Linked DNA regions of Homo sapiens: regions 2, 3 and 4 are each linked to region 1. The links are contacts of gene promoters, found by promoter capture Hi-C in human tissues and cell types (Jung and others, 2019). All regions are on one chromosome and are shown on one strand. Each heading gives the region's core, a stretch centred on a gene start or on the middle of the fragment in contact. The rest is flanking DNA. Distances are from core to core; before and after follow the strand shown. Region 1 holds the start of PNPLA5 (patatin like domain 5, triacylglycerol lipase). Region 2 overlaps EFCAB6-AS1 (EFCAB6 antisense RNA 1). Region 3 overlaps MPPED1 (metallophosphoesterase domain containing 1). Region 4 overlaps MPPED1 (metallophosphoesterase domain containing 1).

Evidence for each region. The method cuts DNA at HindIII sites, captures the fragments that hold promoters and counts their contacts. A contact is called where the count stands out against the background at its distance.
Region 2: a contact is called between a fragment that was not itself captured here and the fragment with the promoter of PNPLA5 in region 1, in 2 of the 25 tissues and cell types used here (dorsolateral prefrontal cortex and lymphoblastoid cells).
Region 3: a contact is called between a fragment that was not itself captured here and the fragment with the promoter of PNPLA5 in region 1, in 1 of the 25 tissues and cell types used here (IMR-90 fibroblasts).
Region 4: a contact is called between a fragment that was not itself captured here and the fragment with the promoter of PNPLA5 in region 1, in 1 of the 25 tissues and cell types used here (lymphoblastoid cells).

The regions. Positions count from the first base shown.
Region 1 is chr22:43,889,271-43,896,874 of GRCh38, reverse strand. PNPLA5 (patatin like domain 5, triacylglycerol lipase) reads left to right here and starts at 4,862. Exons shown (of 9, transcript NM_138814.4): 1 at 4,862-5,187; 2 at 5,581-5,813; 3 at 7,011-7,076; 4 at 7,337-7,546. The coding sequence starts at 4,995. The HindIII fragment of the contact is 8,381 bases long and covers 477-7,604 here.
Region 2 is chr22:43,522,083-43,529,113 of GRCh38, reverse strand. The region is part of intron 2 of EFCAB6-AS1 (EFCAB6 antisense RNA 1); the gene reads right to left. EFCAB6 (EF-hand calcium binding domain 6) reads left to right here. Exons shown (of 32, transcript NM_022785.4): 32 at 139-336. The coding sequence ends at 261. Among named protein-coding and RNA genes, the nearest start is that of EFCAB6-AS1, 9.3 kb to the right of the region's middle. RefSeq lists an enhancer at 922-1,421. The HindIII fragment of the contact is 6,308 bases long and covers 1-4,984 here.
Region 3 is chr22:43,443,839-43,451,563 of GRCh38, reverse strand. All of the region lies in intron 3 of MPPED1 (metallophosphoesterase domain containing 1), which reads right to left. Among named protein-coding and RNA genes, the nearest start is that of MPPED1, 36 kb to the right of the region's middle. RefSeq lists a silencer at 2,027-2,226. The HindIII fragment of the contact is 5,257 bases long and covers 3,725-7,725 here.
Region 4 is chr22:43,506,558-43,514,181 of GRCh38, reverse strand. MPPED1 (metallophosphoesterase domain containing 1) reads right to left here. Exons shown (of 7, transcript NM_001044370.2): 7 at 6,334-7,624. Among named protein-coding and RNA genes, the nearest start is that of EFCAB6-AS1, 5.9 kb to the left of the region's middle. The HindIII fragment of the contact is 7,472 bases long and covers 84-7,555 here.

The DNA of each region.
Region 1 (7,604 bases), core at 3,613-6,112:
AGCCTGGGTGACAGAGTGAGACTCGGTCTCAAAAAAAAAATTTTTTTTAAATAAATAAATAAATACAAATGCTAATATCAGGAAATCTTGGCAAAGGGTAGCCATGAACACTGTACTTTTCTCACAACTTTTCTGAAAATGGGAGATGATATCAAAATAAAAAGCTCCCAGGCAGGTGCTGTACCTGGGAAGAAAACGGGGGCGGTCGGGGGGGGGGGGCGGCGTAGAAGGACTCTCAAAAAAGAAAAGGTGGAGTCCAGGAGTCCAGGAGGCAGAGGAAAGGCTTGGAGAGGACGAACTAGAGCCATGTGGCTGGTGAGAGGCAGGGTCTCACTCCATTGCCCAGGCTGGTCTCAGGAGCGGCCCTTCCCCACCTGACTGTCGCCCCTCATGCTTGTGCCTCTGCTGTCCGGGAAACAAGCCACGGTGCACGTGGCCCCTAGTGCCTCCTGGAGGTCACCATGCACACATCAGCCCTCAGTCCCTATCACCAAATAATGGATGCCTGGTCACCCTTCCCCACTTGGTAACACCAAGCACCCACCTTCCCAGACCTGCCCTCAGAAAACCCCGGGTTAGTGGAAGTTGGGTAGCGCCCTGGGCCCCAGCCAGAAGCCAGTGCTGCCCCATGTCCCTCCCCCAACAGGAGCCATTTCAATCCTCCACACCCTCCCCTCACTCTCAGGGTTGCAGTGCAAACGCGTGGGTGCCCATTGTCCGCTGGGGCAGAGCAGCAAGTGCTGAGGCCCCTGGCTGATTTTGCACACTAGTCAAACCAGTTATTAGCACCTGTTTCCCAGATTGGAGGAGGGAGCTTTTCTGGGGCTGGGATTGAATCCACTTACCTAAAATTCCCCAGACTTTAGGCAGGCTCCACATTGTGACAGGAATTTAAAAAGAGTAAGTGATAACTAGCACGTACCAGGGACCCTGCTCAGTGTTTTACAGACATCAGTCATCCTTTGCAACCCCAAAGGTAACCCTATGAGGGCCGTCCTGCCACATCTCCACTTGCAGAGGGGAAACTGAGGTGTGTGACACCCAGAGGCCTGTAAGCAATCGGTGAATGTGGCCAGGCCCCAAACATGACGTGCTCGGACCACTGTTCTACTGAGTGGAGTAACGGGGGGACTGAGGCAGGTGCTCTACCTGGGGAGAAAATGCCGGGGCAGAGGGACTCATGGAAAAGAAAAGGTGGAGTCCAGGAGGCAGGGGAGGGGGCTTGGAGGGGACAAGCTAGAATCATGTGGCTGGTGGGGAGGGGCTTTTTATTTTTCCAAGATGGGGTCTCGCTTTGTTGCCCAGGTGGGAGTGCAGTACTGCAACCACGGCTCACTGCAGCCTCCAACTCCTGGGACCAGGCAACCCTCCCGCCTCAGCCTTTCAAGTAGCTGGGACCACAGCTGTGAGCCTGGCTAATTTTTATTTTTGTAGAGATGGGGTCTCGCTTTATCGTCCAGGCTCGTCTGGAACTCCTATTCTTGAGAATTTTCCCTATAGTCATAAGAAATATTGGTTTTTAACCTTATTTTTTTCTAATGTCTTTGTCTGGTTTGGTATCTGGGTAATACTGGCCTCATAGGATATGTTGGGAAATGTTCCTTCTTCCTCTATTTTTCATAAGAGTTTGTGAGGGATTCGTTGAATTTTTCTTTTTCTTTTTTTTTTTGTTGGGGGGACAGAGTCTCACTCTGTCACCCAGGCTAGAGTGCAGTGGTGAGATCTCAGCTCACTGCAAACTCTGCTTCCTGGCTCAAGTGATTTGCCTGCCTCAGCCTCCCGAGTAGCTGGGATTACAGGCGCACACCACCACACCTGGCCAATTTTTGTATTTTTAGTAGAGACGGGGTTTCGCCATGTTGGCTGGCTGGTCTTGAACTCCCGACCTCAGGTGATCCGCCCGCCTCGGCCTCCCAAAGGGCGGGGAGAATAGATGTGAGCCACCCTGCCCAGCCCAAGGCTTATTTTTTAAGCTTTATGACATTCACATGGTCAAGTACGTGGATTGTGAATGCAATCACATTCACATGGGGAAGTTTTTTGCGGGTAAACAACCATGTAATCAGAGCGACCTACGAAGCATTTCCAGCATCCAAGAAGCCCCCAAGCCCCTCCCAGTCACCTCTTCCTGTAGCAGGGAGTTTGGGAGACTAAGAATGTAAGTGCAGGGCCCTAGGACGGACCCACCTGTTGCCCCCTATTGCCTTGAAGAACCTGCAAGGGGCCTCCAGTGCTCTGTGGAAGCAAACCTCACTTCCTTTTGGAGACACTACCGTGCAAGACTGGCCTCAGGGTGGCCCAGTACGTTTGGTTATGCTTGCTTTGGATTTAGGGAGGTATAATAGAATTAGCATTATTTCCAAGAATGGGAAGCCCAGAGGCCTGGACAATATGGCAAAGGACCGGGTGGACCAGGTGCATCTTCCTTGACACCAGCTCGCCCACAACTGTCCTGTGGATGGCCAGGTCAGGCAGACACCGAGAGGGTAGGAGACTTGCTGAGGGTCACACAGCCAGCAAGCCTGAACTCCCGACATCTTCCCTTGCAGGCTCCTGGCCTTCCTGCAACCTCCCAAGCCACCCCAGAAGTGAGCCTGCCTTGGTTCAGCTGCTGGTTCCAGGGCAGCTCCCTGAGAAGATGGTGCTGCTGGGGAAGGCCGTGCTTCTGGACACTTTCTGCTAGACTTGCCACCAGCCCCATCATTCTGGTGATGCCACCAGCCAGACTGTTTTCCCACTTGATGTTGACCAGTCACCCACCCTGAGCTCTGTGCTGCCTGCTGTCTCTGGGGGGCCTCAGACAGCCCACACCAAAATGCAAGACCCAATTCCTGAAGCATCAAGCACGCAGAAACTCAGCCTGGCTCCAGGCCTTACGCTTCCTCCCACAGCCCCGCACCACCTGCCCTCACCGCCATGACTGCTCTCTCCCGCTGGCTGGCTTCTCACTCCTCCCTACTCCTCCCTGCCTGGTGCCTTTGCTCAAACTCTTCCCTCTGTGCCCATCTCCCTTTCTCCCCGTGGTGAACCCTTGATCGACCTCCAAGGTCCTGCTCAAACCTTGCTTTTTCTCCGAAACCTCCGGAACATGTCCCTGCTGAACTCCCAGCCCCTGAACTCCTCCCTTCCTGAACTCACACTGGTGGTCCACTGTTCCAGGGAGGCTCAGTCTGCCTCCGGCACAGTCACAACTGTGGGTGAAATGTTCCTGGCTGTGCCTGCTGTGACCTGGTTCCCTCCTGGAGCAGAGTCAGCACATGGCTTCTAATTACCCCCTGCAGCTGGGGCTGGGTCCTTCCCGCAATGGAGATAGCCTGGGGTACCTGCCACCAGGTGGGTGAGTCTGTGCAGGCCCATGGTCTTTGAGGCAAGGATGCCGCCCCTGGTGTGGGATCAGCAAAGCCCGGTACCGCCCACCTCTGTGGGAGGGGAGGCTGGGCTGGCCTGTCCCAGGGTGCCTTCTGCACCCAGTGCCCATGGGCAAGCTGCCCTTCACTCCCAGGTCAAGGAAGAGGTAGGTGTGAGGCTAAGAGAAGCAGATCCTCCCACCTCTTCCTCCGAAAATGACCCACCCAGGCCATGGGCTGAGCATTCAGTCCACAAACACTGTGCCACACTTCTTCCAGGCACAGATGGAGGACCTGGCCCTCAAGGAGCTCACATGAGAAGGCACTGATATGTGCCATGTGATTAAAGCAGTAACACAGGGATGGGCGCAGTGGCTCCTGCCTGTAATCCCAGCACTTTGGGAGGCTGAGGTGGGCAGATCATCTGAGGCCAGGAGTTCGAGACCAGCCTGAGCAGCATGGTGAAACCCTGTCTCTACCGAAAATAACAAAAATTAGCTGGGCGTGGTGGTGCGTGCCTGTAGTCCCAGCTACTTGGGAGGCTGAGGCAGGATAATTGCTTGAACCTGGGAGGTGGTGGTTGCAGTAAGCCGAGATTGTGCCACTGCACCCCAGCCTGGGTGACAGAGTGAGACTCTGCCTCAAAATTAAATAAATAAATAAATAACATAGCGGTTGCCATTGATTGTGCGCCACTTGATTAAAACAATCACCGTAGTAACCATTGTTTGTGTGCTTATCCAGTGCCGGGCGCTATTCCAAACACGTTACTTGCATTAACTCTAATCCTTACCGGTCCTATGGAGTAAGTAATGTTATTATCCCCACTTGATGGATGAGAAAACTGAGGCACAGATCAGTTAAATTATCCAGGGTCACCAGCCAAGACATTCTGGAGCCAGAATTGGAGCCCAGACAGCCCTAATCACTACAAACCCAAGTTCTTGGAGCTTTGCAGTTTATAAAGCACTTTCCAATGGATTGATTAGGGGAGGAGGGAGGAGGTGGGATGTTTGAGCAGGCTGTAGTGGTAGGTGAGGCTTGGAGAGCGGGTGAGCCAGGGGAAGGTGCAGTGGTGCTGGCTGGAGCGGAGGCTGGCCCCGAGACCTCTCTTTCCCTCAAGTCCCTCCCTGGAACCAGCACAGCTGCGGACTTAAGCCTGGTTTGACCCCAAAGACCAGGTGTCCTGGGTCCGACTCTGCCACTTCCTGGCTGTCACCATCCTGGGCTGCGCCTCAGTTGCCTCATTTGCGTAATGAGGACTGGAATAACATCTGCCCAGACTACCAGAGATCAGGCAAGATTTGGTCCCACTCCCCTGCCGTGTCACCCAGAAATCTATGACCCGATGCGGATCCGGGGCGGGCGCGTGGGGGCGGCGCCAGCGTATACACAGCGCGCGGGCACTTCTGGGGCACACCTGGCGCACAACTGGAGTGGGGGCTGATCGCGACCCGGGGACTTCATTGGCTGGGGCGCAGGTGACGCAGCCCGGGGGCGGCGCAGGGAGCACCAGCACCAGCCCCAGCCCGGCTCCCTCCAGAGCCCACATTTGGGCCCAGCCCCGTCCAAGGCTGCATCCCGGCCCTATCCCGGGTCACGGAGTGACCCTTCCTCGTCCCGATCACCCCGCCCGGTCCACCCGCCATGGGCTTCTTAGAGGAGGAGGGCAGATGGAACCTGTCCTTCTCCGGCGCCGGCTACCTGGGCGCCCACCACGTGGGCGCCACCGAATGCCTGCGCCAGCGAGCCCCGCGCCTCCTCCAGGGCGCCCGCCGCATCTACGGTTCCTCGTCTGGGGCGCTCAACGCAGTCAGCATCGTCTGCGGCAAGTCGGTCGGTGAGTCCCGGACCGCGGGGGCGAAAAGGGGCGGGGACAGCTTAATGAAAGCGGATCGAGCCCAGAGACGCTGGTGCCTGGCGCTGTGCTCTGCGCCCTCTACCCCCGGCACAGCCTCATTTAATCCCATGAGAACACCGAGTGCTGGGGACTAGGTGACCCCCATTTGCAGAGGAGGGATCGTGGCTCAGAGCCAGAAACTCTGTTTCCCAGGTCGGCGGGGCAAAAAGTGAAAAGGTGAACGGATCATTTGAATCCGGGGCCGAGCCCAGAAATTCTGAGCTGGAGTGGGGAGGACCCCGCTCCCACTGCACCTAGGAGGGCAGTGGGGGTGTGGAGGGACTGGCAGGATCCCTGGGCGCTGAGGTCTCCCTTTCCCTGCCCCCACTGCAGACTTCTGCTGCTCCCACCTCCTGGGCATGGTTGGGCAGTTGGAGCGGCTGAGCCTAAGCATCCTGCACCCGGCCTACGCGCCCATCGAGCACGTCAAGCAGCAGCTGCAGGATGCTCTGCCCCCCGACGCCCACGTCCTGGCCTCCCAGCGGCTGGGCATTTCGCTGACCCGCTGGCCTGACGGACGCAACTTCTTGGTCACTGACTTCGCCACCTGCGATGAGCTCATCCAGGTGTGGGGCGGGGGGTGCCCAGGGCTTGGCTGGTGGGCGGGCTCCATCTAGTCCAGAGTGACATCCAGGTACTTCCCCGTCAGACGTTTCTGCAGGGGCGGAAGGAGGGAGGGCGGGTGGACCTGTTTGTAGGTGAGGAAACTGAGGCCCAGAGAGGGTCGGCAGGGTGGGTCTGGAGACTTTCCAGGTTGCTGCACACAGAAGGGTCTGGCTGGGGCCCGGCAGAGTCAGGCTGCTGAGTCAGGGCCCCCACAGGGACTGCTCTTTCCAGAGGGCAGCTGGCTAGCCCCAGCCTCCACCCCACTCCATCCTCCCGCCGCTTTTTGGCGGTGGGTTGACATTTATTGAACACCTATTATGTGCCAGTCACTATTCTAGGCACTGTGACTGTAACAGGGAGCAAAACAGACAGAAACCCTTGCCTTCCTGGGGCTTCTATGCTCAGTGGTTCTGGGGGGCAGGCGGTATCGATAATGAACTCATCTCCAAGTAAGGAGGTAAGGAACCATCCAGTATTGAAATGAAATAGGATGTCTAAAAAAGATGCTTCACATACACCCTGACACTATTATTTGCCAATAGTGTGTACGCGCACGCTCAAGTGCAGGCACACAGTGTGACAACCAAAAATGTCTCTGACATTGTTAGGTGTCCTGTAGGGGAGAAAATCACTCCTAGTTGAGAACCACCAACCCAGAGCTTGCAAACTTTTGAATATAGGACTTTGTCTCATGGAACCCTTGGAAACGTCCCAACTCTCTCTGGGAGGTGCAGAACCCATCCTGGCCCTGACCAGATGGAGATGCAGGTGACAGTTTTGTTCCCACAGACTGATAACAGTCACGGCAGCTAATGTGTACTGAGCACCTACTATGTGCCAGGCCCCATCCCAACTGCTACACAGGCAAGGAGTCTGGGCCACTCTTTGGGGTCCCCGGCTGGCTTCCTCAGGAGCCTGCACCTGGCCTCCTTCCCTGCACACCCACAGAAAGAGGAGGTGGGTGTCAAGACAGAGGTGCTCCAATCCCTGCTTCCCTTGGAGAGCTTGGCTGGGAGGTGATGCCTCAGCTCCCTCATCTGGACGTGGGACTGATGACACCTCCTTTGCAGGCTGTTGGGATTAGAAACCGTGCCTAGGAAGGTTCTGAATGCAAGAAGCATGCACAGTTGTGTTCCTGCTGACTCTTCTCTTCCTAGGCCTTGGTCTGCACCTTATACTTTCCTTTCTACTGCGGGCTGATCCCCCCCGAGTTCAGAGGGGAGGTGAGTGCACTCTGGAACCCCGTTCTGTGCTCTGGGCAGCCTGGGGTGCACACCGTGGAGAGGTGCTTGGGTGGAGGAAACCAGCGCTCCTTGAGCACCTACTGTGTGCCAGGCCCTCCCCCTGCTCCTGGGGGGCGTTCAGCCTCCTGGGCTGGAGTGGCCCTGGTGACTCAGGGACAGCTGGAGGGTCACCGGCTGCAGCCAGTGTGGGAGGCCCTCTGAGAGGGCAGCACCACCCACCTGCTCCCCACAAATTGCAGCGCTACATCGATGGGGCTCTGAGCAACAACTTGCCCTTTGCAGACTGCCCCTCCACCATCACGGTGTCGCCCTTCCATGGGACAGTGGACATCTGCCCCCAGAGCACCTCCCCCAACCTGCATGAGCTGAACGTCTTCAACTTCAGCTTCCAAATCTCCACTGAGAACTTCTTCCTGGGGCTCATATGTCTCATACCCCCCAGCCTCGAGGTAGGTCTGGCCCTGTGATGGTGTTAGAGGCTTGGCCAAGGTCAAGGGCCCCGTGAGT
Region 2 (7,031 bases), core at 581-3,080, 360 kb after region 1:
AGCGCACAGATGGGAGGCTGACATCGGAAGTGGGGTTGGGGATCAGGTGGATGTGTCCCCCAGCCCCTTCCTGGCAGCCTGCCTCCTTAACCTAGGGCACCAAACAAGCCTCAGAGGCCCCTTTTCTCTGTCTTCCAGGTCCTGAGACAGTACAGCATCAACCTCTCTGAGGAAGAGTTCTTCCATATTCTGGAGTATTACGATAAGACGCTGTCTTCAAAAATCTCCTACAACGACTTCCTCCGGGCATTCCTCCAGTAGACACCCCTGCTGTGTGCCCAGCGGGACGACAGCCACAGGGCCTGTTTCAAGGCTAATAAAATCCTATAATTTGGGGGTTTCATGAATTTTCAAAAAAAACAAAACTCAAGCCCAAGCCCAGCCCGCCTGTCTCTGGGTCGGGGGTAGGCACAGCTGCCCTGGGTTCTGGCATAGGATGCTTGCTCTCCAGGTGCCAGGTGCTACCACTATGTCTTGGGCACCCTCACTTGTTAGTCTGAACAAATAATCTTTGCAAGAATGATTCTTGACACTATAAAATAATTACTAATGCTAACTTTTTTTTTTACACGGAGTTTGGCTCTTTTGCCCAGGCTGGAGTGAAGTGGCGCTATCGGCTCACTGCAACCTCCGCCCCCTGGGTTCAAGCAATTCTCCTGCCTCAGCCTCCCGAGTAGCCGGGATTACAGGCACCCACCACACCCGGCTAATTTTTGTATTTTTAATAGAGACAGGGTTTCGCCATGTTGGCCAGGCTGGTCTCGAACTCCTGACCTCAGGTGACCCACCCACCTCAGCCTTCCAAAGTGCTGGGATTGCAGGCATGAGCCTCTGCGCTAACATTCTTAAAAGCTTGGACTTTCCGGAGGTTTTGTTCATGGCCCCTGCCAGGTGTCTCCTCCAGTCCAGAGCAGTTGGGGCCCTGCACCCCATTACCCAAGGACTGCTGCCTCCTTTGACCCCCCAGCTTCCTGGGTCCTGGATCAGAGGACATCTGAGCCCCCTGCTGCAGTCAGGGTGGCCATGTCTCTGCTCCTAGAGGCACAGGCACTGACCGCCCCATCGCTGTCTTGCTCAGGGATGCCAGCCAGCCTGACTCCATGAAGAGCAACTCACGCCTGAGTGAGACCCCCTGGAGCTTTGGGCCTCCCTCCGCCTTCCTGAGCCCAAGCCTAGTGGCCACTGGCCGTAACCCCCACCAGGGACAGTTCTGAGAGGGCCCTTCCTTGGAACTGACAGGTTTGACAAGAGAAGTTTGAAAATCGTCACTCCGCTTTCATGGACTGTGACTCAGCTGAGAGACTCAGGCAGCGTTTGCCACCTTCTGGAAGGTTCTCCAAGGAACTGGGGAGCAGCAGGCAGGATATGGGGTGTGGGGGGAGCACCTCCCCTCCACCTGGGCCCCAGGCCTTGCCCACCAAAACGCCCTTCCCTGCCCCTGCACAGGGTCCAAATGAGGCCACACCCTGAGGTGAGCAGATCTCTCCCTGAGTGGCAGAGCCGCGCATTGGATGGGTGTGATTGGGAGGACAGGCTCCCGCCCAGCCCGCGCAGGCCTTCTATTTCCTGGAAAATGTTTCCTGGGGTCACCTTTGTTTCCATCTGTCCTTAGTTTCCTCCTCATTTCAGGCTGGACCGCTGCAGGGGGAACGGGGTGCTCAGGCAGCCCCAAGTTCAGGGAAGGGGAAGGGGACCCTGAGTAGGCACATCAACAGGGCCATGCAGTGATTACGGGACAGAGACGCCCTGGACCCCAGCTGCTCCTCCATGTGACTTTGTACCAGGTCCCATCCCTTCAGCGTCCTCATCTGTAGAAATGGTGGGACCACACTTGTGTCACCTTTGTTGTGGGACCTGGGCCTGTGGGCAGCAGATGTTCCCATGAGAGAGGCTTCAGCCCAGAATAAGGAAGGCCTGTGAGGGCCAGGGGCACCAGCCTGAGACTCCGGCCAGAGGCAGGGCAGTGTCAGCTCCCAGTGAACACAGGCATGCCAGACTCAGGCTGAGGACAGGCCAGTGCCAGCAGTCAGTGAGCACAGGTGTGCGGGACTCAGGCCGGGACAGGGCAGTATCAGCAGCCAGTGAGCACAGGTGTGCGGGACTCAGGCTGGGACAGGGCAGTATCAGCACCCAGTGAGCACAGGTGTGCAGGACTCAGGATGGTACAGGACAGTATCAGCGCCCAGTGAGCACAGGTGTGTGGGGCTCAGGCTGGGACAGGGCAGTATCAGCGCCCAGTGAGCACAGGTGTGCGGGGCTCAGGCTGGGACAGGGCAGTGCCAGCACCCAGTAAGCACAGGTGTGTGGGACTCAAACCCAGCGCTTCACACACATCATCATTTAGACTCCTGTGAGCATCCCCATTTGACAGATGAGGAAACTGAGGTACCGGAAGTTTTCCAGAGTCTCACAGCTTGCAGGATTTGGCCCAGACAGTGAGTAACAGCCCAAGCCAGTGTCAGAGGCCCTGAAGGTGGGCGGGCAGGCTCCCCTGCAGGCAGCACCAGGACTCACTCAGCCCTGTGCCCACATCCCTGCCTCCAAGCCCTGGCTCCTGCTGGCTCCTCCTTCTGGGACTACTTCTGTTCTCATCTGCACAGCCCGCGTACTCTTCCTCTGAGGCCCAGCTCCAATCCTCCTGTAACCCCTGGGCAGAGGCTGAGCTCCCCGTTCGATGCTGTCACCGCTTGGCAGAGAGAGTCACTCCCTTCTGCACCCACTGCTGGGCCCAGACTCCACCCATAGGGTGAGAACACTGACCTGCGCCCCCAGCCTGGCACACAGCAGGTGCTTTAATGCTGGCAGGGCACAGCCTCTGGGTCCCTTTCCCAGAAGGAAAGCTGACCAGGTTCTGCAGGGAGTGCTGGCAAGTTGGGGAGCAACTCTGGTGTTGGGGGCTTCTCTGTGGATGGAGTCTGTGAGTGCTGGACTCCCCATAGCACTAGGAGGTGGCTGTGGGGTCAGACCCACATTCTCTTGGCCACATCTCCCAGCTTCTGGCAAAACAAGTTCTGGATCTTCCCATGCATGTCCCACCAGCACTGCTGGCACCACACTCTGACATAACAGTTTTAAAATGCAGTCTCCCCTGTAAAAACAAATCAGGTGACACTGAGCTTTCAATGAGCTCTGGAAAGAAGGCTTGGCATCTGCCGGCTGTTATTCCAACCCCAGAAATTGAAAGTGTGTCCCCAAATTTGCAAAGTAACCTATTAAAATCCCCACCATGATGGAGGGTTGCATGCTTAGTGGTGAGGGGCAGATGGATGCCCTGCCCATGTGCCCTGCCTCAGCATTGGAGGCCCGACCTGGGTGCCCAGATCCCATCCTGTGTGCTGGACTTCAGCTTCCCCATGCTTGTTCTTACATATCTTTGCACTTGGCACCAGCAGTTTCTTCCACCTACTCCTCAGGAAATGCCGGGTATTCCTTCGAAACTCTCAAAGCCACCTCTTCCACGAAGCTTTCCTGACTTCCTGAGGCTGAGTCAGTACAATTAGTCTGAACCTGTTCAGCAGCCTTGAGGGTCCATCATTTTTAAGGGTTGAAGAAGGAGGAGGAGAAAGAGGAAGGAAGAAAAGAACAAGAAATGCAACCGACTGCATGTATGTGGACCTCAAAGCCTAAAATATTTACTATCTGATCCTCCACAGAGCAAGTTTGCTGGGCCCTGCTATACAAATGTCTGGCTTTCAACAAAAAATTTTGAGGTATACCAAGGGCAATTATAAAAACAGTTTGAGAAGACAAAGCAATCACAAGAATCAGACTCAGACATGACAGATTTTGGAACCATTAGAAAAATGTTTAAATAACTGGTTTATGTGTTAGAGCGCTAATGGAAAAGAAAGACAACACACGACCAGCCAATTTCAGCAGAGAGATGAAAACTGCAAGAATCAGAAAGGCTAGAAATAAAAAAAACACAGTAATAAAGATGAAGATTGCCTTTGACAGGCTCGCTCATCAGTAGATTCTACATAACCAAGGAAAGAATGAGTGAGCTTGAAGATAGGTCAATAGCATGTATCTAAACCTAAATGCAGAGAGAAAAAGAGTGGGGAAAAATCGCAGAATATATAAGAGCTGTGGGACAGTATAAGATGGTCTAATATGGGGCCGGGCACAGTGGCTCATGCCTGTAATCCCAGCACTTTGGGAGGCCGAGGTGGGCAGATCATGAGGTCAGGAGTTCAAGACCAACATGGTGAAACCTCGTCTCTACTAAAAATACAAAAATCAGTGGGGTATGGTGGTGTGTGCCTGTAATCCCAGCTACTCAGGTGACTGAGGCAGGAGAATTGCTTGAACCCGGGAGGCAGAGGTTACAGTGAGCCGAGATCGCACCACTGCACTCCAGCCTGGGTGACAGAGCGGTGAGACTCTGTGTCAAAAAAAAAAAAAAAAAAAGTCTAACATGCACATAATTCAGGAGGAAAAGAAAGAGAACATGGTGCAGAAGAAATATTTGAATAAATAATGGCTGAGGATTTTCCAAAATTAGTTACAAACACTAAACAACAGAGAACAGAAGCATATAGAACCTGGCAGGATACACACACACACACACACACACACACACACACACACACACACACACACACGCACCTCTAGGAATATCATATTCGAATTGCTGCAAAAAAAAAGAAGGCAGCTAGAGAAAAAAGATGTACATGACCTACAGAGGAACAAGGATAAGAATTATAGCATACTTCTCAGAAACCATGCTAACCAGCAGACAATGGCATAACATTTTCAGAGTGCTGAAAGAAAATCATCAAGCTCAAATTTTGTAACCAGCAAAATACCTTTCAAAAATAAAGAGATACATTGGATTTTCTAGGCACACAAAAACTGAAGGAACTCACTGATGGCATACTTACCATAAAATAAATTTTAGGCTGGGTGCGGTGGCTCACACCTGTAATCCCAGCACTTTGGGAGGCCAAGGCGGGTGGATCACTTGAGGTCAGGAGTTTGAGATGAGCCTGGCCAACATGGTGAAATCCCGTCCCTACTAAAAATACAAAAATTAGCCAGGCATGATGGTGGGCACCTGTACTCCCAGCTACTTGGGAGACTGAGGCAGGAGAATTGCTTGAACCCAGGAGGTGGAGGTTGCAGTGAACCGAGATCACACCACTGCACTCCAGTCTGGGTGACAGAGCATGACTCTGTCTCAAAAAATAAATAAATAAATAAATAAATAAATAAAGGAAGTTCTACAGGCAGAAGGAATATGATTGAGTCAGAAATTTGGATCTATCAAAGAAATGAAGAGTATCAGAAGTGATATAATCAAAGGTAAAATAAAATATGTTTATACCTGAAATTATTTTAAAAGTTAGCCATCTAAAGCAAAATCTGTCACAGTGTATTATGTGTTTACACCACATTTAAAAGTACAACAACAAGCACGAGGGATGGGCAGAAGGAATTCAGAGTGTACTGTTAAAAGTTTCTTATACTGCATGTGAAGCAATATGATATAATTGAAGACAGATTGTTTTATAATGTATTTATAAACCATAGAGCAATCACTAAAAATATACTTTTAAAAATAGACTTGCAAAAGGTAAAATTAACAAGTGAACAGAGGAGATAAAAGGGAATCATGAAGGGTTACATCAGCAGAAATGGCAGAGGAAGGCCCTCCAAAAGACCTTTCCTCCAAAACAGCAGCAAGAAAACTGGCAACAATGGTCAGGATCAACTTTTTTGAGAACTCTAGAAATTATCCAAAGGCTTGCAGGAACCGAAGGGGCACTTATTCAAGAAAAGTAGCTGAGCGTTGGCAAGACTTGTGGCTTTTTTTTTTTTTTTTTTTTCTGAGACGGAGTCTTGCCCTGTCACCCAGGCTGGAGTGCAGTGGTGCCATCTCAGCTCACTGCAACCTCCACCTCCCGGGTCCAAGTGATTCTCCTGCCTCAGCCTCCCAAGTAGCTGGGACTATGGCATGCGCCATCGTGCCCGGCTAGTTTTTGTATTTTTAGTAGAGATGGGGTTTCACCACGTTGGCCAGGCTGGTCTCGAACCCCTGACATAATCCACCTGCCTCAGCCTCCCAAAGTGCTGGGATTACAGGTGTGAGCCACTGCACCCAGCCGACTTGTGGCATTTTAACTGCCCTAGTCCAACCAGCCACTCTCCAGGTCCCCAACAGCCTTAGAAAATAACAGCCTGCATTCCCAGTTCAGTGTGATAGTCACCACACAGAGCAGAACAGAGCTGGAGCAACTTCAAAGCCTATTTCACCAAAATATGGTCGCTATTTGGCCTGCATGGTGGATCCCTGAAAGATGCCCTTTGCAAGGCTGGCTGTTTTGGGCCTAACTCGGAGCTTGCCCAGGTGTAAAAAACCTTTCTCCCAGAGTTAAGGAGGGAGTATTTGTAAAAAAAAAAAAAAAAAAACAAAACAAAAAACAAAAACAAGAAAGTGTTTTAACTTGGTGGCCGCCTAAGGCAATGGATAACAGCTGGGGTAATCAAAAGGCTACTCAGAAAGCTTAAAAGGAAAAGCTGGGAAATAAAATGTCACGTGGAGGCCTTAAAAAACACCAACATATTTCTTGAGAATCTAGAAAGCTACAAATGTAGACAGTGCTGTGTGTATGCCCGGGGTTGTGAGCATGCTCAGAAAAGACATTAAAAAGGCCCTACACTCTCACCTCTGGCTGACTTGCTGCACCAGCAGAAAGTGAAGGCTGATGCAGAGTGGCCAGCCACCTGGCTGAATGTTGAAGGTGCGTCCTGACAGGCACTCAGAGCATTTCAGCAGAGACTGGGAAATTTTTTATTTTTATTTTATTTATTTATTTATTTATGTGAGACGGAGTCTCACTCTGTCACCAGGCTGGAGTGCAGTGACGTGATGTCGGCTCACTGCAACCTCCCCGGGTTCAAGCGATTCTCCTGCCTCAGCCTCCCGAGTAGCTGGGATTACAGGCGTGTGCCACCACGGCCGGCTAATTTTGGTATTTTTAGTGGAGACGGGGTTTCACCATGTTGGCCAGGATGGTCTACAGGATGGT
Region 3 (7,725 bases), core at 5,104-7,603, 450 kb after region 1:
GCTGTCAAACCAGCCCAGAATTAGCTCCAAACGGCCTTCCGCGAGCTCTCGGATCTTCATTTGCATCGTGCACACTCCGAAAGGTGTGAAATCCTTCTTCTTAAGAGAGATCAAAGAAACAAACCTATACACTTTTTAAAATCCGCTTTTCTTTTAAAAACAAATTTCAAAGAACTAAATTCTAACTTTTAAATGCACGATTTTAAAAAGCGGAAGTCCTCTTTGGATGATATTAATAGTAGTAATTAAAGCTACCACCAGCTGGGCGCAGCGGCTCACACCGGTAATTGCAGCATTTTGAGAGGCCGAGGCGGGTGGATCACGAGGTCAAGAGATTGAGACCATCCTGGCCAACATCGTGAAACCCAGTCTCTATTAAAAATACAAAAATTAACTGGGTGTGGTGGCGCACGCCTGTAGTCCCAGCTACTCAGGAGGCTGACGCAGGAGGATCGCTTGAACCTGGGAGGCTGAGGTTGCAGCGAACCGAGATGGCCCCACTGTACTCCAGCAAGACTCCATCAAAAAAAAAAAAAAAAGCCAGATGCAGTGGCTCACACCTGTAATCCCAGCACTTTGGTAGGCCAAGGTGGGCAGATCACCTGAGGTTGGGAGTTCGAGACCAGCCTGACCAACATGGAGAAACCCCATCTCTACTAAAATTATAAAATTAGCTAGGCGTGGTGGCACATGCTTGTAATCCCAGCTACTCGGGAGGCTGAGGCAGGAGAATCGTCTGAACCCGGGAGGCAGAGGTTGTGGTGAGCCAAGATGGCACCATTGCACTCCAGCCTAGGCAGCAAGAACGAAACTCTGACTCAAAAAAGAAAGAAAAAAAAAGTCTACCATCAACTGAGCCATCTACTCTATGCCAGGCATTTTAGATTTAGATGTGTTCACAAAACCACCACCAGAGCAATGGCTGCCTGTGTTATGCATTTACCCCATGCCAGGCCCTATGATGAGCCCAGATCACCCGCTGCCTCACTGAACTCTCCCAATATCAGCTCCCTTTGATAGATGAGAAAACTGAGGCTCAGAGAGCAGACAGAACATGCCCAAGGCCATATGGCTGGGAAGAGCAGAGCCAGGATCCAAACTCGAGAGGTCTCTCAGGACCCACGAGGCTAAGCAGAATCCCAGCTGCAATGCCTTATTCAATCCTCACAACAGCCCTCCAAAGCAAGTGTGTCGCCCCATTTTTTAGGTGAAGACACTGAGGCACAGGGGAGTGATGACCTTCTCAGGGCTGCCCAGCAGGCATGTGGCCAGGCAGGACCGGGAGGGGGCCTGCCCATTCCTTTCCCCTGGCCCCTGTCTCATTCAGGAATTAAACTAGCCCAGGTCCACGGACATGACCACATCATGGCTCCCTCTGAAACCCAGATAAGCCCTGCAATGGGGAAGGCTCCAGAAGCCACAGAGAACACTGAGTGGGAGGGAGGTCACTGACACGTGAGAAGAATGGGGCTGGTCCCACCGAGGACAAGGGTTGGGGCGCTACGCCCTGCATGCATGCCTCCTCCCCATGGTACCTGCTGGTGTCCCTGGCTCTACAAACCACCGCCACCCGGCTGGGCCCGCCCATTCTGCAGCCCCATCTCTCCAGCTGCCTCCACTGCCTTTCTGCTTCTAGAATCCACCTCGCTCAGGAGGGATGGAAATAATGAAGAGTTTATGCTGCATCGCCTGGAACTTGCACTTCACCTGCATTATCTTGTTCGGGTCTCACCAAGGCCCTGTGAGAAACATCCCGTTACTTCCCCATTTTCCAAATGATAAAACTGAGGTCCAGGGAGGCTAAGTCACCTGCCCAAGGTCACACATCGAGGAGGCAAGGTGGCCCAGCTCTGGTTTCAGTTCAGAGTCTGAGCTCTCAACCATGTCCCCCTGATGCATGTGTGTGGCCCTCGGCACCCAACTCCCTCCCTCGCTGGGTGGCAGGTGGAAGAGTTCCAGGGTGCGGGGATGGGGCCGAGCAGGGGATCGAGGCAGGCGGAGGTCTAGCATATCCACAGTCTGCCAGGGCACACACAGGGCCCACATCTGGAACTCAGGGCCATAGGATAAGGGGATGAGTGCATTCCTTGACTTAGCCAATAACAACACTGAGAGCCTACTTGGAGGGGGGGCGGGGGGGGTTGGCACTGTCCGTGGTGCTGAAGATATGGCGGTGTACCTGACGATCCAGATCCCTGCCCTGGAGACCTGCGTGACCTCCAGAAACCACCTCTCCGCACTGGGCCTCAGTCTCCTCATCTGTCAAGTGGGGACAATATACTCAGGGCCCAGGATATCTGTTGCAAGGGATCGTGAGAAAACAACGTGAAAGTGCCTGTAAACTGTAAACTTCTGTCCAGAAGTCATTATTGCTGTTAAGCCCCCGTGTGACTTGGATACGAGGCTTTGCAGCAAAACGTGTATTTCGAATATGAAACGTAGGATGTAAAAATCCCTGTATCCCATCAGCAGCTGACACAGGACTTTTTTTTAGTTAGTCCTAAGCCTATAAAGCTTTACTGCTGACCATAAATATCAAAACCGTCTTGGAAACGAAGAATTTGCCTAAAAAAAAAGAGTCAGGGGCTGGCAGGGGATTTTCCAGATACACAAGAGTAGTTCCCATATACAAAAGGTCTCCTTAGCTATTAAAAACAAATAAAAAATGTAGGGCTGGTGGCTCACGCCTGTAATCCCAGCACTTCGGGAGCCCAAGGTGGATCACTTGAGGTCAGGAGTTCGAGACCAGCTTGGCCAACATGGTGAAACCCCGTCCCTACTAAAAATACAAAAATTAGCTGAGCATGGTGGCAGGTGCCTGTAATCCCAGCTACTCAAGAGGCTGAGGCAGGAGAATCACTTGAACCCTGGAGGCAGAGGTTGCAGTGAGCTAAGATCATGCCACTGCACTCCAGCCTGGGTGACAGAGCGAGACTCTGTCTCAATAAATAAATAAATAAATAAATAAATAAATAAATAAATAAAAAGATTTTAAAAGAGCCTAGACCTTGGGTTGGAATCCTGACTCCACTTTTCTTTGCCGTATGACCTTAGACAAGATTTCTCCCCGCTGAGCTCAGCTTTTGCACCTGCAAAGCAGAGACAGCAACAGCAGACACCTCCAGGGATGTCTAGATGTGTGGTCCAATGCAGCAGCCATGAACTCCCTGTGGACATTTAATTTCAAATCAGCTACAATGAAATAAAAATACAAAAGTCAGTTTCTCAGTCACACTAACTGAATTTTGAGTGCTCCATACCCACATGGGGGCTCGTGGTTACCACACTGGACAGCACAGATATACAGCTTCTCCACTCTCTCAGGAAGTTGCACAATGCTGGTGTCAGGCCCTGTTACTCAAAGTGTGATTCCCAGGATGGGCGCAGTGGCTTACGCCTGTAATCCCAGCACTTTGGGAGGCCAAGGCAGGTGGATCACTTGAGGTCAAGAGTTCAAGACCAGCCTCACCAACATGGTGAAACCCTGCCTCTAAATACAAAAATTAAAAATACAAAAATTAGCCAGGCGTGGTGGTGGGTGCCTGTAATCCCAGCTACTTGGGAGGCTGAGGCAGGAGAATTGCTTGAACCCGGGAGGCAGAGGTTGTAGTGAGCCGAGATCGCACCACTGCACTCCAGCCTGGGCAACAGGGCGAGACTTTGTCTAAAAAAAAAAAAAATATATATATATATATATATATATAATATTTACATATATAAAATATTTTTATATTTATATAAAAATATAAATATATATATATATAAGTGTGCTCCCCAAGAGTCCTCGGGAGAACAGAGAAGGGGCATACCCTGGGAGCTCATTAGAAATGCAGAATGTCATGCCCTCCCGAGACCTATGTAATCTGCACTTGAGCACTGAAGTGTGAGATAGGCCAGTCGTGAGGATAAAGGAGAGACCAGGAGGGGAGACGCCCCTCTACATGAACAATAACAGCACCTGCTGGTTTCCACTCTCTCTAAGTGGCGATCGTATTCTCCAAATGGAACTAGTCCCCGGGCTTCTGACAACGTTTATGCTGAGTGCAGGTGCAGGAGGCAGGCAGGCAGGGGCAGGTTGCATAGACAGGGAGATGGTGGAAACTTCCAGACATTTCAGAAGTTTATGTGCACGCGGGGACACAGTATTTTAATTCTGTGCTGGCCAGGATTTTCTGGCTTGTTCATTATTCCTGTTCTGGAATAAAATCCTGTATGAAAATGACATTTTAAAAAATCTACAGGCTTGTTTCATATCCAAACACCTCTCTCCATGTTTGTGAAAAGAGAGAAAAAGCATGTCAGTAAGAAAATCTTGCTTCCACCAACTTCTGAACAACCAACCAGCAATTTCTCCCCAAAGGGTCCACAGCCTTGAATGAGCTGGAGAGAAGCGGCACAGGAAGAGGAAGACTCACACGAGGGAACCTGGCACAGCCCCAGACTGCACGCTTGGCATACATCCTCTCTCATCCGCAGAACCACCAGCAGGGGGGAGGAAGGCACCGCCACCCTCCATTACACAGGAAAGTCACCTGCCCTCCGTCTCACAACTGGGAGGCAGGTGAGCTGCAAGTTAAGCCTACATGGTCCAACTTGGTCCCCGGCTACCACTTCCCCCTGTCCTGTCTCCATCGTTCATGGTGTTTTCTTGTTTGTGTGGCTCTCAAGTGGAAGTCTTGCTTGATTTGCTGCCCACGGTATCTCTGGTGTCTGGCACAGGGTGTAGAACAACACAGAGGTGCCACAAATGTTTGTTGAGTGAATGAATGATTGCAAACCAAAGGCAAGTAGCAGCTTCAGCCTTGCGCCCTAGGTTAGCCTCAACCCTTGAGCTGGAAGGCCTGTGCTCATACTTCATGTGTCCAAGCACTGCCCAAATGCCCAGGCCGCCTCACTTGCCACCTCCTGCATGAAGCCCCCCAAGCTTCCCTACTGGGTCCCATCCCCCATCTGGACTCAGTTTCTTCCACTCACTTGCTCAGACTCTCCGTGGGGTTCCAGCCACATCTTCCCATGTGCCGTCAACACCCCCAACTCAGAGTTGCTGCCTCTGCCCAGACATGGGCACGGCTGGCTGCCTCCATTCAGATCTTCATGCAAACATCCCCTCAGCAGAGGGTCCGGCCCTTCCCCATCCCTTCATGTCCCCTCAGCCTGAACACCCCCATCATATGACAGCTGTTTATCCACAGCCTGTCTTCTCCCCTGACTCACAAAGGCAGGAACTAGTTTTGTTCACTGCTGCATCCCCAGTGCCTAGAATCACGCCCAGTGCAGAAAATGTGCTCAGGAAACATCTGTTGAGTAAATAATCAAGTGCAACCTGGAAAACAAATACTAATAACTATGACTAGTTTGAGGCAGAGTTAAAAATGCATTAAAAGTAAACACCAGGCTGGGTGCAGTGACTCATGCCTGTAATCCCAGCACTTTGGGAGGCCAAGGCAGGCAGATCGCTTGAGCCCAGGAGTTCGAGACCAGCCTGGGCAACATGGTGAAACCCCGTCTCTACAAAAAATAGAAAAATCAGCCGGGTGTCGTGGTGCATGCCTGTAGTCCCAGCTACTAGGGGGGCTAAGGCGGGAGAATCACCTGATCCCAGGAGGTTGAGGCTGCAGTGCGCCATGATCACACCACTGCACTCCAGCCTAGGACCCTGTCTCAAAAAAAAAAAAAAAGAAAATGTAAACACCAGGCTAGGCACAGTGGCTCATGCCTGTAATCCCAGCACTTTGGGAGGCCGAGGTAGGCAGATTGCCTGAGCCCAGGAGTTCGAGACCAGCCTGGGCAAAATGGTAAAACCCCATCTCTAAAAAAATACAAAAATTAGCCAGGCATGGTGGTGCATGCCTGTAGTCCCAGCTACTCGGGGTGAGGTGGGGGACTAAGACGGGAGGGTTGCTTAAGCCCAGGAGGTCAAGGCTGCAGTAAGCAATGATTGTGCCACCGCACTCCAGACTGGGCAACAGAGTGAGATCCTGTCTGCAAAAAAAAAAAAAAAAAAAGGAAACATCAGACAGCAAAGATATAGATAAGATGGCAGCAAGAGGGGGCAGGGTACGTGTGTCCTCAGGTTCTTCAGGGAGGAATGGAGATGTTGATTAATTTTAGGCTGTGTTAAGTCTGATACACACGTTAAAAATTTATGAGTAACTACTAAACAAATCAAAAAAGAATACAAAATTTCCAAACCAGTAGAGGCGAAAAAAAGAAACTTCAATCAATCAATCCAAAAGAAGGCGGAGGTGGGGGGGATAGAAAGCACAAAATGAATGACAGAAATGGGCATGTTTTATACACCAGGTAACTAAATAAATATTTGTTGTTATTATCCAAATACAAAAGCCTTTACCAAGGTCCTTCCACACAGAAATAAGGAGGGCACAGGAATAGGCCTTCAAGTTACTCCCAGTGGAATGAGATGGATGTCAAACATGCTACAGAGGACCCATCAGAGGAGCTGGCACATCTCCCAATAATCAGGGCCATTAATCAAATTACCTTCTTCACTTTGGCCCCCAGGAAGCTCAGACCCTAGTTAACCACTTACAGCCCACATAGCACTGGGTACTGGAATTCTAGGCCCTCCGTCTGAGCTACTCTAACTTTTTTTTCAACCCTGGCTTTTAATTTATCATCAATATTCTACCCATTTTACTATTTTTGTCATTTTTATAAACTATCTCCAACTCTTTGACACAAAATGAGATATAAACAAGCAAACAAAAAATCCAAATGAATAACAAACTACACAAAATTAAGCCACACAAGAACTTTCAGACAGTCCAGGACTTTCAGAGAAATGAATCTCTCTACCCTGCTTAGATTTTTTTTTTAAGTTTTTAATTTTAAGGCAGAGATACTTAGGATAATGGTCTTCAAAAAAAATAAAGAAATAAAGGGCCAGGCATGGTGGCCTATGCCTATAATCCCAACACTTTGGTAGGCCAAGGCAGGTGGGCCACCTGAGTTCAGGAGTTCAAGACCAGCATGGCCAACATGGTGAAACCCCGTTTCCACAAAAAATACAAAAATTAGGCATGGTGGCTGGCTCCTGTAATCCCAGCTACTCGGGAGGCTGAGGCAGGAGAATCATTTGAACCCGGGAGGGGGAGGTTGCAGTGAGCTGAGATCGCGCCGTTGCACTCTAGCCTGGGTGACAGGGCAAGACTCCATCTCAAAAAAAAAAAAAAAAAAAAGATAGATAGAAAGAAAAAAACACCACTGCATAACATGTTTGATACACACACACACACACACACACACACACACACACACACACACCCCAGTGGGTCTCATTTCATTTCCAAAGCCATTTTGTTGTAAATAGATAATTATCACTTAAGCATACCTTTCAAGGGGTTTATACATTAACATGAAAATACTGTAATTATGGCTGGCCAAAATCACTTGACTACAACTTAGAATTCTAGATTTTTCATCTTTCTTAGAAGTTAATTTTCTTCCTTTTAGCCCCTACAACACAGCATGGCTTGTGAGGAATTTTTTTGATGAAGAATATAGAAAATTAATTTTTTAAATGAAGATCAAACCTCTGCTGCACAAGCCATCCATTTTTCTTCTGAGCCTTGATCTCACTCTCCAGGTGGTCACTCAGTTTATCAATCACACTGGCCATGTGCGTACGCAACCAAAATCCCTGGACACCAACAGCGCCCCATCAGAGAGTGCCGGAGGTGACAAGAGGCTCCAGAGTTTAAAAGT
Region 4 (7,624 bases), core at 2,570-5,069, 380 kb after region 1:
ATTTTTTTTCTTTTTAGAGACAGGGTCTCACTCTATTGTCAAGGCTGGAGTGCAGTGGTGTTCTCGGTTCACTGCAGCCTTGAATCCCTGGGCTCAAACAATCCTCCCACCTCAGCCTCCTGAGTAGCTGGGCCTATAGGTGTGTGCTACCATGCCCAGCTTATTTTTTGAATTTTTGTAGAGACAAGGTCTCATTATATTTCCCAGGCTGGTCTTGAACTCCTGGCTTCAAGGGATCCTCCCACCTTGGCCTCCCAAAGTTCTTCATCTTCTTTTTTCTTTCTTTTTTTTTTTTTTTTTTTGACTCTGTCGCCCAGGCTGGAGTGCGGTGGCGTGATCTCGGCTCACTGCAACCTCCGCCTCCCAGGTTCAAGCCATTCTTCTGCCTCAGCCTCCCGAGTAGCTGGAATTACAGGCATGTGCCACCACGCCTAATTTTTGTATTTTTAGTAGAGATAGGGTTTCACCATATTGGCCAGGCTGGTCTCGAACTCCTGACCTCATGATTCACCTGCCTCAGCCTCCCAAAGAGCTGGGATTAGGGGGTAAGCCACCACACCCAGCCAGTTCGTCATCTTCTTAAAGGAACACCAGTACTATTAAGGTATAGGGTCCCACCTTATGATCTCATTTAACCTTAATTACTTCCTCGAAGGCCCTTTCTCCAAATACACACCCAGTAGGGATTAGATCTTCAACATATGGATCTGGGGATGCACAATTCAGGTCATAACACCCCATGCCTCCAGACCCCTAAAATTTGAACCAATGTGGCCAACTCCTGCATCTTTGTGGATATCTCCTACTCTCTAGGGTGCATGAGTTTTACCCAGGTATCTGGAGAGCATCCCAACCATGTCTTACTGCTCACGTCGGATTAACGTGACGCCGTCAAACCTGTGGGCCAGTGTCAGGACGGCCAGAATACCCGCCTCTTTGGACCACATTGTGACAGAGAGTGAAACACTTCGCATAGTTTCATGCCAAGGCCACACATGTCTATCACTGGTCATCCAGTGGGATGCAAACCCATTTTGTTCCTCCTTCCTGATGGGCTTTGAAAAGAACACATTCATCAGATCAGCAGCCGCACAGCCCCGTATTTAAAACTGTTCATCTGCTGAGTACACACACCATATTTGGCACAGCAGCTACAACTGGACTATTTCTTGGCTAAATTTTTGGTGGTGCACTGTCACCTGCTGTGACCATCATTTTCAGGGGGGCCAGGTGGACAGAGGAATTGGAGATGTGTTGGAGGCCAACCTTGAGAGTGGTCCTGACCTCCGCACGCCCCTTGGGAAGCTGTGCTGACTTTGGTTGACTATCTTTTGGGCAGGGACGGGTGCTCCGCCACGGTGGCCCCTGTGGAAATGGGCACTCTGCCTTATGATGCAGCATATACCTTTAGCAGTGGCCTTACCTGCTGCTGGGTCTGTGAAAGATGGAATTAGGAACGAAGGGCTGGGGGGAGGTGGCCCAGGCCACCATCACACCCTGTGACCAACGTGGGGAATTTATGCCTCTAGTCCCTTGCAGCACAGGCTCTGTAAGTCTATAGGCCCCGGATTCCAGAGGTTCATGCTTCCATCAAGGCTATCTCAACTGAAAGCTCTGGTGTCAGCTGGCCCACCTGGGCTTCCTGAGCCAGGAGACAGGCAGCGAAGAACAAAGCCCCCCCACTGGCAGGGGGATGGCCTTGACCATCACCGGGAAAGAGGACTACTGCCACATGAGGGACAGGGAGATGTGTGCCTGGCACTCGGGGGCCTGCTGGGGCATCTCCTGGTGCTCCCACAGCCAGTTCCAGCGGTAAGTGGGCAGGTGCACACACCACAGCCTATCAGGGGACAGTAACCAGGGCTTTCGGCCCCTAGGGATACGGGAGGGTCACCCTACCAGTTAAGCCCCTGGGCCAGCATGAGTGCTAGGTCAGAGGGAGGGAATCCAGACCAGGTAGAGGGGAAGGTAGGGAGTGTTGGTTACGGACTCAGGACCCATGGCAGCAGCACAGCGTCCACCCAGGTTTTCCCAGGAATTCTGACCAACCAGGGAACTGGAGAAGCCTGGATGCAGTAAGTGTGAGAAGCACACGGATCTGGGGCTGCAGGAGGTGGACAGTGGTGGATGCTCTGGTCTGCCCAGACCCCAGCTGCTAGGAGGCCTCTCCTCTGCCTCCTTCTAGAGAAAGTTGCCCTTGACTGAGCAGAAGCTGCCTTGCCTGGGATGTAAGACACCCCCCATCTCTGCTCAGGGACGGCCTACAGCCAATCCCTGACTTCCTTAGGGATATAAAAGGCTGGGGTGTGGGTAGGAAGCAGTGTGGACCAACTCTGTGGGGCAATTCACATCCTATGACCCCGGAGGATCAGGTTGAAGCATGAATTCCAAACGAATTCCAACCTCACTCTTTCCCTGTCCTCGCCTGCTCCCCATGTCCCTCCCTCTGGAGCACTTGCCCTTAATGAATCACAAACACGCAGCCCTGTGTTGGGACATGCTTCTGGAGGAACTAACCTCATATCCCCACCACCCACCTTCAGAACAGCCCCTCCCTTCCTCTCCACGAATGTGAAAATGAGTCCTGGGTCTTGGCAGTGGACAGGCTGCAGGCCGCAGCCACATATTCCACTGGTAGCTCGGATACTCACTGAGCCGTGGGCGAGCCGCGGCCCCTCCGAGCCTCAGCTCCCTCTTCTGTGAAGGTAGGTTGGCCCTGCAGGTTGCTGTGGATCTTAAACGACACAGATGCGTTGAGTGCCCGGCACACAGAGGTGGGCATCCCAACCCCTTCATGACTTCCTGCTGTTCAGGGCCCAGCCACACTTCTTCCGCCAGGAAGCTTCCTCCAGTATGCTGAGTTTGGTCTTCACCAGGGCCCCCAAGACTGACCCATCTGCCACTTACTGGGCCCCAATATATAAGACCTGAGGGGTTCAGCTTTTCTTCTGGGGTCAGATGAACCTTCCACAGTGCACCGAGAATTTCCAGATGCCAGGCCTAATCCCCACATCGTGGAGACCTTTTCAGTCGTGCCTTCGATGGGAAGTGGGGCAGAGCCTCTCAGGTCTGTGTGACAAGGCCCCCAGCTGGCCAGGCAGGTTTAGGCCCAGGTGGGAGTTGTGGGTGGCATCCGGGGAGAGTTGGGTGGAGCCCCTGTCCACAGGGCTTGTCACCTCCGCCAGTTCATTCAGGAATCTGGGAAGTGAGTCTCCTAGAAGAAAAAGTCCTACGAATTTGGTCCTCATGGAGGTTCAAGGATCAACTCCATGGAAGCAAATTGCAAGACGGAGCTGCTGGGGCTGGGGCTGGGGCTCTGGGAGTGGGTGCACCATCAGAGAGGAGGCAGGGAGGGGAAGCAGCCTGCTGCATTTGCCACTGGACTCCCACTGGCAATGGAGAGCGGTCTCAGGCCCCATGCTGCTCTGTCTCCTGTGCCTCGGGGCTGCCTGGGGAATGATGGCTGCAAGCCTGGGTGAGCCCAGAGTGCTGCACCCCCAAGAGCTGAGGCTCCAACACCAGGCACCTCTGCTGCAGGATGCCCTCACTGTTGGTGCAGTACCCTGGACAAATTCAGAGCTGTCTACACATCCTGCATAAGCATGCAGCTCAGCTGCTGCTGCATCTCAGCTGGGCCAACAGGACCCTGATGCATTCAGGCGGCACCTACCACGTGACAGCACCACTAGTGGCAGCAGCCAGAGTCGCTTCCCTGCCCCTGCTCAGGAGCCCTGCTGGGGTGCATGCTGGCCAAGAGCAGCAGCTGGGGTCCTTAAACTGATTAGTTCCTTGTGGCCTCTGGATGGGAAGCCAGGGCCTGGGATGGCTGTTGTACACCCCTGTGAGACCCTGGTGGAGGGGACTCTTGGAGGGGCAGGTGACAGGTGGGGCCAGTCTGAGAACAGGAGAGGGCAATGAAGAGGTGGCACATTGTGATCTGCCCCAGGCTGCCCCCTGCCCTGCACACCTCCCTAGGAGGTCTCCCCTGCCCCACATCTTTGCTTATGACCCACATCTGGCTCCAGAGACACTGTTTCTCCTGCAGGCCTGTTTATCCTCTGAACACCTCCCCTGTGTAGCCCAAAGTCTCCCCCAGCTCATGAGTCCCAAACAGCACTCCACGTCCCTCCTCAGCCCTGTTCTTCCTGCTCCTGTGCCCCTTCTCCGTGACAGCACCCAACTTCCACTGCCGTCCTTGGCTGTCCCTCCCCCATGCCCCACATCCATTCCTCACTGCCATCCTACCTCCTAAATCTATTGCCGCCGCCACCACTTCCCTAGCCCAAGCAAGACCCATGGGAGGTACTCAGTGGTGTTTGTAGATTGGATGGATGGATGGGAGGGAGGGAAGGATGAAGGATGGATGGATGGATGGAAAGAGGGAGGGAAGGAGGAGGAAGGGATGGATGGTGGATGAATGGAGGGATGGAGGGATGGATGGATGAGGGAATGGGTGGATGGATGGGGCAAATGGAGGGATGGAGGGATGAAGGGGGGGATGGATGGATGGATGATAGATGGGGGATAGATGGATGGATAGATGGGGGATGGATAGATGAATGGGGGGTGAATAGAGGGATGATGGATGGGGGGATGAACGAAAGGATGGAGAGATGGATGAGAGATGGATGGATAGATGGGGGTGAATGGATGGATGGAAGGATGAATGAAGGATGGATAAATGTCTGGATGGGGGATGGATGGATAGCTGGGGTATGGATGGACGGAGGGAGGGATGGATGGATGGAGGGATGGATAGATGGATGGGGGATGGATGGGTAGATGGGGGATGGATGGATAGATGGGTGGATGGGGGGATGGACAGATGGAGGGATGGATGGATGGACAGTTGGGGGATGGATGGATGATAGATGGGGAATGGATGGACGGATAGATGGAGGATGGATGGATGGGGGATGGATAGATGGAGGGATGGATGGATGGATGGGGGATGGATGGGTGGATGGGGGATGGATGGATGGAGGGAGAGATGGATGGATGGATGATGGACGGAGGGAGGGAGGGATGGACGGATGGCGGATGGATGGTTAGATGGATAGATGGAGGACGAATGGATGGAGGGAGGGATGGGTGGAGGGAGGGATGGATAGATGGATGGGGGATGGATGGATAGGTGGGGGACGGATGGATGGATGGAGGATGGATGGATGGATGGATGGATGGGGGATGGATGGATAGATGGATGGATGGGGGATGGATAGATGGAGGGATGGATAGATGGGGATGGAGGGATGGGGGATGGATGGATGATAGATGGGGGATGGATGATGGATGGATGGATAGATGGGGGATGGATGGATGAGGGGATGGATGGATAGATGGGGGATGGATGGATGGAGGGATGGGGGATGGATGGATGATAGATGGGGAATGGATGGAGGGATAGATGGGGATGGATGGATGGGGGATCAATAGATGGAGGGATGGATGGATAGAGAGAGGGAGGGAGGGAAGGATGGAAGGATGGGGGATGGATGGATGAATGCATGGATGATGGATAGATGGAGGGAGGGATGGATGGATGATGGATGGAGGGAGGGATGGATGGATGGGGGATGGATGGATAGATGGGGGATGGATGGGTGGAGGGAGGGATGGATGGATGGGAGATGGATGGATGGATGGATGGGAGATGGATGGATAGATGGATGGGGGATGGATAGATGGAAGGATGGATGGATGGACAGATGGGGGATGGATGGATGACAGAGGGGGGATGGATGAATGGATAGATGGGGCATGGATGGATGGGGGATGGATGGATGGATGGATGGATGGATAGATGGGGATGGATAGATGGAGGGATGGGGGATGGATAGATGGAAGGATGGGGGATGGATGGATGGATGGATGTTGGAAGGAGGGGTGGATGGTATATAGAGGGATGGACGGACAGATGGATAAAAATGACAGAACTTTTGCAGCTTGGGGGCTTTCAGACTAGGGTCGTTGTACCTGCCAGTGTTTCTCCTGGGCAATGTCTGGACCCTGTGTTTCACAGGGGCTGGGCTGAACATGCCATTTCCAGGAAGAGTCCAGCGCTAAGGCCTCTGGAGGTGTTCTGTTTTGGGAGACCAGGCAGCCAAGTATTTGTACAAAAGAGGACCCAGAACTGCCCACACCACCACCTCTGGGATCCCCCCACCCCAGGGGAGGTTAAAGCAAGCAGAGGGACACCGACTGCTGCCACACAGGAGGTCTTTGGCATCCAAGCTCTGTCCAGGCCTCAGCATTCTGCAAGAGGACACCACGCTGCCACCATGTGTCCCAGACAACAGCCAGAGATGTGGAAGGAAGAGGTGCCGCGTGGACTTCTCTTTTTACAAAGACTTTATTGTCTGACATGCTTGACAAAAAAAAAAAAAAAAATTACAGCCACAATCAAGTTATGCCAAAATGATTGAGAAGCACGCCGTCATCTTCATACCTCGAGGACTTTTAATGAATTTTCTCTTAAAGTAACAGCTGCCTTCATAACTTTTCTTTTCCACATAAAAATACACCATATTCTGAAGATACCTTAGGAAAAAAATTTTTTTAAGTTTATCGTTCTTGGTCCACATAGAAATTGAGTGGAGCTGGCACTGAAAGGGCCTGCTTTTCTCCACCCGCACACATGTCCTGCGCCTGGGGCATCAGAGAGACCTCATAAACATCCCTGGCTACAGGAACCCCTTCAGCCAAACGGGATTCCTGGAGCCCTGCACCCCACGGCGCTCAGCTTCAGCCAACCCGATACAGTGCTGCTGCCAGGCTTCCAGGGACAGCAGCCCCACCCCTCGAGGAGCCCAGCTCAGTGTGGGCAGAAAAGGACTCCCAGGATGCTAGGATGCTGCACCCAGGGTTCAGGACTCCTCAGAGCTCACACCAGTTTTGAACAGGACCCTTAAAAATAAAAATACAATAAAAAGAGCCTTGGACCATGCATTGCTTTGTAGGGACATAACTTCGGGTCATGGCAAAGTGAGGGCAGTGAGGCCAGAGAACAAGGGTCAGATCCTGCCTCGGCTCCTTTTGTGCTGTGAGCCCCCAGGCAAGTTACCACACCCCTCTGGCCTCAATCGTCTCATCTCTAAAATGGGACTAAAGTACCTACCTTGAAGGACCATCTGAGGATGAAATGAGTCTATATCTGCAAAAGGGCTCACGGTAGGCTGGTTCCCAGGGCTGGGACCTGGGTGAGGGAGTGACACCCTTCTCTCAGATGTACAACGGAAAGGGGTGCAAAAAAAGTCACCAATCAGGACAAATAATACTACTTTAATGCAACGTTAAAAATCAAAATAAATGCAGAAAAAGTCCATGATGAACAAAATATTAAATAACGACAGAATCTGACCCTGAACTTGCCCATTTCTGCCTGACTGCCTGCCCCTCATCTAGGCCCTACCGGTTCCCACCACCGCCCTGGCCCCACCCCCTCCAGTCCTAATTCAAAGAAGAAAAAGAAGCTGTCCAAGGTGGGGCTGCTGGAGCCTGGGGCCCGCTCGGTCCCTGTGCCACCCTCCAATTCACAGGGCCGGCTGGTCCTGGGCTTCCTCGGCTGCAGGCATGCCAGACAGAATCCTAACGGTGCAAGGGAAGCCGCACCAAGGAACAGAAC